2 separate regions of the Homo sapiens genome follow, and region 1 is linked to region 2. The links are contacts of gene promoters, found by promoter capture Hi-C in human tissues and cell types (Jung and others, 2019). All regions are on one chromosome and are shown on one strand. The core of a region is centred on a gene start or on the middle of the fragment in contact, and the rest is flanking DNA. Distances in the headings are between cores, read along the strand shown. Region 1 has its middle 2.4 kb from the start of TF. Region 2 holds the start of AMOTL2 (angiomotin like 2).

Region 1 (3,141 bases), core at 541-3,040, 630 kb after region 2:
ATGAAAAATATTGAACTTGTGCCTTCTATATGCTTATATTTTAACTAAAAAATGTGTACACTTCAATCATGCACAAGGAATAGAAATTTGTAAAAGGATGAGCTAAAGATGAAACTCATTTTCAAATGTCGTTTTGCTTATGCGGCCTTATACAGGATTATTATCTCAAGGCATAATATACTTGGGGAAAGGTCAAGATTCCTTCCACGAAGTGTAAATCCAGACTTCAGAGATTTTGCCAAAAGTTACTTCTTATCCAACCTGACCAGATGGTCATTCATTCTGTCTCATGTTTTAGTTGACCAAGCTCATATCAAGCCTAGTGGACACGTCAGGTCAGTCATTTGATTTTTGTTCACTTGTTTTTGTGTTGTCAGAATTGTCTCCTAATTCTAGTTTCTTTGTAAGAATCTTTTTAAGGCATGTGTGCATCTCGTGAAGGTTGGAGTTAAAGCCAGATTATCTAATCTGTACATCCGTTTAACTGGGCACATACAAACCACAAAGTATGGAAATAAAAATGCCAAAACAAAGGGCAGGGTCGGCACTCCCCTTTTCACCTTTAGCATTGTGAGGTGAACCCCATCTTCCCTTAGGACACCTGAAAGGCTCCATCTGTCATGACTGCAGACTCAGGTGGGAGATAGGGCCAATTCACACATTCAATATGAATGAATGATAATTTGTTAATCTTTTGCAATAACAATAAATATAACTGGAAGTTAGATTATGTTCTCCCACACTCCAAAAGATTATCTCATATGCAAAGGGGTTACATACCTCCCACTTTAGAGTCCACTACAGAAGCTTTCTGTTTACAGTGAGGACAGAAGTCAAGTCTGGCTTTCCCAACACATCAGCCTCACCAGCGAGGGAGAGTGACCACTGCTGCCCTGTCTTACTCCCCCCTTGCCCGTCCACGGGCCCCTTGTGCTTGAGCCATAGGGAAAGAAGACTGTTAGCATGAGGGCCATATTCCTACTGCCCCTGCAGCAGGCTCTAGGCAGTGGTCTGGATTCATTTGGAGACCTTGAGGTAAGGATGTGAGATGAGCAGGAAAAGTCAGGGGCAAGGCTAACTGGAAGGCACCCAGCAGAGCAGCATGCACACATACAGCTGATGCATGGACAGGCCCTGTAGTAAGCTTGCAGGGTCTGCCAGAGAGCAGGAAGTGCAGTTACGAAAGGTTGAGCCCATGCCACAAACTCAGGGAAGCTCAACGCAGGGCATGGAAAGAAGATGGTCAGTGATTCTCCTTTTCTGGAGCCCATCTACATTCGTAGACTAAGCCCCGCTGAGGCCAGTCCTCCAGCCACAGGCCCATAGCCTAGCCAGAGCCCCTCAGCAGGGAGCAACTACCTACTGGCCAGGCTGAGTCCTCTCCAGAGCAGCCAGCTCTATGCCCTGTCCTCAGAAGGGTCCTTTGAGTCCAAGCCCAAGACAGGTGCTGGGAAGGAAATATACAGCCTCATGGGATATGAAGGAAGCTCAGACAAGACATAGAGAACTGGTGCTCCCACGTCATCTACACACACCTAGATGGAGAGGCCAGGGCCTTGGCTTTTGCTCAAGAGGACAACAGCAGAGCTTCGTGCTTGCCATTCCTTGGATGGGGTAGGCAGGGGTGAGGCCAGCTTTGGGGTGTACATGTGTGCATGGCCCTAGCTGTATGGGGTGCCTATGCCTGTATATGTCTATAGGAGCATGTGAAGGTAAGAGGTTAACATTACAGCGCTCCATGTCCATGACACTTGTACCTGTGCTCTCATTTATATTCTTTAATTCTATACCAGAGATGTTCTGGAGTTGGAGAATCACTGTCCCTTTTAATAGCTTAATGATGGCTGAGATTTACTGGGAGCTTCACTGAGCACTTACCATACCCCTCTGACTTTGGTGCTTTAGCATCTGTATCTTACAGATGAGACAAGGAAACTGAGGACAAGAGAGGATGATATCTTGTTCAAGGTCAGCTGCAAAGTCAGAATACAAAAGAAGGCAGTCTGGTTCCAGAGTGTACACATCCACCAGGGACACTGCCTCTCCCAGGAAACCAGGACATGCAGGGGCCAAGGAGCTCATCTGGGGTCACACCGAGAGAGGGACAGACATGAGACTCCCAGCCTTGCCATTTCTCCAAAAGCACACAGCCCCCAGGGCTTTGCCAGCACAGGGGCTGGTCAGTCTGGGAGAGGTCTGAGTACCAACTGCAGATCCTTAGACATGGACTGGCTTGATTATGCTCAGCTGGAAGAAAATATCATGTTTTTATCCCCTTGTATGTGTCAGGCACTGTCCTGGGGCAAGATCATTGGGGCAGCCATGCAAGATAAGATCAGTACCTCCATTTATCACATGTGGTCATTACAGTCAAATGATGGGTCCTTATTCATGGAGCTCTGAGACCTGAACTCAAACTTCCTAAATCTTGCCCTTCTCCAGACCACAGCTGCCTTCTTGATATTGACCTTCTCTTTATTTATTTAGTGGGGGAGGAAAGAGAGGGAGGGAGGTGAGAGAGAAAGAGAAAGAGAAAGAGATTGATAGAGGACATAAAGGAAGCTTCCAGTTCTAGACCAACCCAAGCATGAGCCAAATCTTTCACCGCAAACAGGGCAAAACTCTCAAATTTCAACCACGAGTTGGCCCTTAAAGAAATAGCTGCGCTTGTGTGTACGTGCAGGAAAGCTGGAAAAGCTGACCAGCAGGAGGTGGGTAAGAAAGCAGTGGGCCTCTGAACCAATATTTGTTGTTTCCAAATGTTGCCCAGTTGACACAGAAGCAAAGCAAACAAAGAGCCTCTGTCTGTTTTGAGCAGTTCCTCCTGTCCCCCACCCAGTGTCCTCTGCCTGACACCAGAGACTTCTCTAAGTCTGGGTCATCCTTGAGAAGCAGCAGCCTGGCAGCCTGAGAACCGACATTCACGAAATCAGTCACCCTGCAAGCCCGCTGGGTCGGGCTGTATGGCTAGGGGGTTGGGGACTGGGCAGGGTACTTTTAGGAAAATGCCAGGCATTTTGAAATGCCACATGACACCACTGCTCACTCGCTCTCACTCTCTCTCTCTTTCTCTCTCTCTCTCTCCTTCTCTTTCCCTTTCTCTATCTCTGTTCTACCTCTCAGAAGTCCTTGGACAATGAA
Region 2 (3,195 bases), core at 610-3,109:
AATATTTGTCAAACATTTTGTCAGGTATCCTCCCAAATGCCTGAAAGACAGGACTGTACCATGTGGTCTTTCCCCTGGTTTTACAACCCGAGTGCACATGTCCACAACCACTCCCCTGCCTCCACCAATTATGCTGTCCATAAGGTAAGGCCACTCAGAGACCTCTTTCCTTTCACTTCTAAAATTCCTACCTACAGTGGTATACTGATCACAGCTTCTCTTCGTAAGGGGATCCTTGGAAAGACAAATATCCCGTAGCTTGGCACAAATGATCCATTTGCTCAATCATCTCAGATCCAATCACTGTTTGAAACACAGTATTTGACTTCCAAGTAAAACACACACGTGCGCACACACACACACACTTTTTGTGAGTTTTATTAAAAATTAACAATGTCCCTGGCAATTAAGCTTGCAGAATTTCCTTGTCCTTGTTTCCCTCCAGTGAATTTGGGACTTGCAAACTCCATGCTGATGGGAGGACCCAGCCAGGGGTAGAAATCAGCCCTGACTCTCTGGGTGGACAGGGGCCTGACTGCCCCCACCTCACCCCAACTGACTTGTAGAGAGGGCTTGTGTGATGGGGAACGGGGACAGCATGTGTCAGAGCGAGCTTTCTGAAGAAGGGGTTTCCATCTAGCAGTGGAAGTGTCCTGGGGGCAGAGGAGAGGATTCCATGCAGGAGCCACAGAAGTGGGTACAGGGGAAAGCCCCTGGCTGGCAGGGGTGTAGGGGGAGGTAAAGAAGAGACTAAAGCAAGGACAGGGTAAGTGGAGAGAGGAGGGCTCCCAGTGTCTGCCCTGTCCATCTAGGGAGCCTGGATTCTGATAGCCAGGGAGGGGTTTTGAGAATGAGAAACCAAGCAGCCCAGTGGTTGATTACCTGGTTCTCACTGTGTGTGACTCTGGGCACGCTGCTTAAGCTCTCTGAGCCCTGGTGTCCTCATTTACAACACAGGGATGATAACAGAACTCCGTTGGAGGGTGCTTGGCAGGGCTGAATCGGATGACTGGGCGAAAAGCCAGCGGTGGCACACCTTGCACTCTGCGTAAAGGGGCGCCTATTATCACCTTGGGGAAGAACTGGACAGAGCGCCTGGCGGCGGGTGATTCAGTTGGGTAGGTGGGTCAAATTGACCGGATTTTCCAACCCAGATTCACACTTCCTGTCGAGACGGTCGTAAAATAGCTGGCGAAGGTGTTTGTAAACAAAAGTGCATTCAAAGGTTGCCGCTGGGGGTGAAAACAGCGGGGGTTAGGGGAAAGAGGCTCTGTGGCTGGAAGCATTCACTTAGCCCGGGGCACTGTCCCAGCCCAGAGGATATGGATGTCTTTGCAGTCCCTCCTCCCTTTCCCACCTCCCCCGGTACACACACACGCACACACACACACACACACACACACAGCCGGAGTCCCCTCCCGCAGCAACCCCAGGACACGCGTGGTACAGCCCTTGCTGTCGTCCCGTCGATGGGTTTAGGGATGAAGGGTGAGAGCGGGTCGGCGACTGGGAGTGGAGGCGATAATGGGCAGAGTTGGATTAAATTGTCTCCAGCAGCTCCGAAGGCAAAGCATGGGGCAGGGGCGGACACACCGCGGCCTGGAGGGCGCTGGGCGCGGAGGAACGGAGCTCGGGGGCCGGGCCGGCGCTCGGCCAGCAGCGCCGCCTCCCCGGAGGAAGGCGGGGGCCGGGAGGAGGGAGCGGGAGAAGGCGGAGGGCGGAGGAGGGCGGTGCGCTGAGAGGTTATTTGTGGTTCGCTTTGATCCCGAGGGGGAACCTGAAACTCTCACATTCCTGGCATAGCAGCCGCCTCCGGCGCGGGCCGACCCTGGGGCTGCGCGCTGGGGCGCGAACAGCCAGAGCGTCGGCGCCACGGCCGAGAACACATCTTCGCCGCCGAGCTGAGCTGGGCCGAGCCGGAGGTTGTGGTGTCTGACTGCGCTGGGCACCCTCGGGCCGCAGCGGTAAGGAAGGCCGCTCGGCGCTCGGGAGAGCGCGCGAGGCCACAGAAACGTGCCCCAGCCAAAGCTGGAGTCTCGGCGCAACCCGGCCTTTTCCGGGAGTCGGAGCCTCGAGGATCGAGCGTCCTCGGGGCGCAGTGCGCCCTTTCGAGGCAGCCGCAGTGCCTGGCAAGGGCCGCTCTGCCCAGGGAGCGCAGCGCGCTGGGCTTTGCGGGGCTCTAGAAACGCGCGGGTCTCTTGGGGCTGGGGGAGAGGGGAGAGGGCCGACTCCGGAGACAACAGCCACAGTGTTTCGGGTTGCAGGTCGGCGGGGGTGGGGGTGGCGGGGGACAGGGATGGAGGCGCCGCTTGGAGCTCAAGTTGCAGGGTCCTGCGGGCTGATTTGGTTAGGTGGGGGTTACAGGTGCCTTTGCCCCCAACTAGTCCAAGAATTCCTCTTTGTCTTCCTTGGAAAATCCTCTCTGGAGCCACGAATTGGCCCTCACTTAGAAAGAATGCAGCCTGCTGTCCAGCCCGGTGACGTCAGCGTTAGAGTATTTGGAAAACAAAGAGGGCTCGAGAGGGAGGGAGGCGGACCCGCGATGCTTAAAGACCTCTCCGGGCCTCGGGCTACCCTCACCGGCTCGCCCCAGGCGTACCAGCGGCCACCGGTGCTCCAGGTCCGCCCGGGCTCGTGGTGGGGCGGGAGCCCTGGCTGGGGTGCCAGAACCTCCTAGCTTGGAGACTGTCTTTGGTTCCTTAGGCGAGCAGGAGCCCAGGCCAAGGCTGGAGACGCGCGCTGGCTTAGAAAGGCGGCCTTCAGAGAGCGCAGCGGGCGAGTGCAGCAGAGGTTCGCGGCCGGGGGCGCGGAAGCAGGTTTTTGTAAAGGCCCAGGCGTTTGATGTCTGAAAGGACGTGAATCTGAGGGGCTTGGCCGGGACAAATTCGCGATGAGAGGCCTTGGAGATGTTCCTTGCTCCCAGTCCGGGCACACTATGGAGCGCCTGGAATCTGTCAGGAAGGCTCCGCATTCCTTCCTGCCGCTCCCCTGCCTTCTCTGTGGGAGTCGGCCCAGAGAGTGATTATCATAGGAAATGCCCGCAGATAAAACTCCAGGGCGAACTGAATCCCATACGAATTGAATCCCATTTGCTTGCTTTGCCTCGGGTAGCTCTGGAGTCTTGCACATCTACCCCTCGTTGTGTGTGGGGGGCGCATGACTGGGTGCCAGGAAGGATGGGTACAGAGGTGCCCT

The links. Contacts are between HindIII fragments. The study calls those that stand out against the background at their distance.
Region 1: a contact is called between a fragment that was not itself captured here and the fragment with the promoter of AMOTL2 in region 2, in 1 of the 25 tissues and cell types used here (hippocampus).

The regions. Positions count from the first base shown.
Region 1 is chr3:133,742,393-133,745,533 of GRCh38, reverse strand. It overlaps a transcript of TF not described here. Among named protein-coding and RNA genes, the nearest start is that of TF, 2.4 kb to the left of the region's middle. The HindIII fragment of the contact is 3,003 bases long and covers 289-3,141 here.
Region 2 is chr3:134,373,111-134,376,305 of GRCh38, reverse strand. It overlaps AMOTL2 (angiomotin like 2), which reads left to right and starts at 1,859. Exons shown (of 10, transcript NM_016201.4): 1 at 1,859-1,964. RefSeq lists enhancers at 202-999, 1,000-1,799, 1,800-2,599. The HindIII fragment of the contact is 13,073 bases long and covers 1-3,195 here.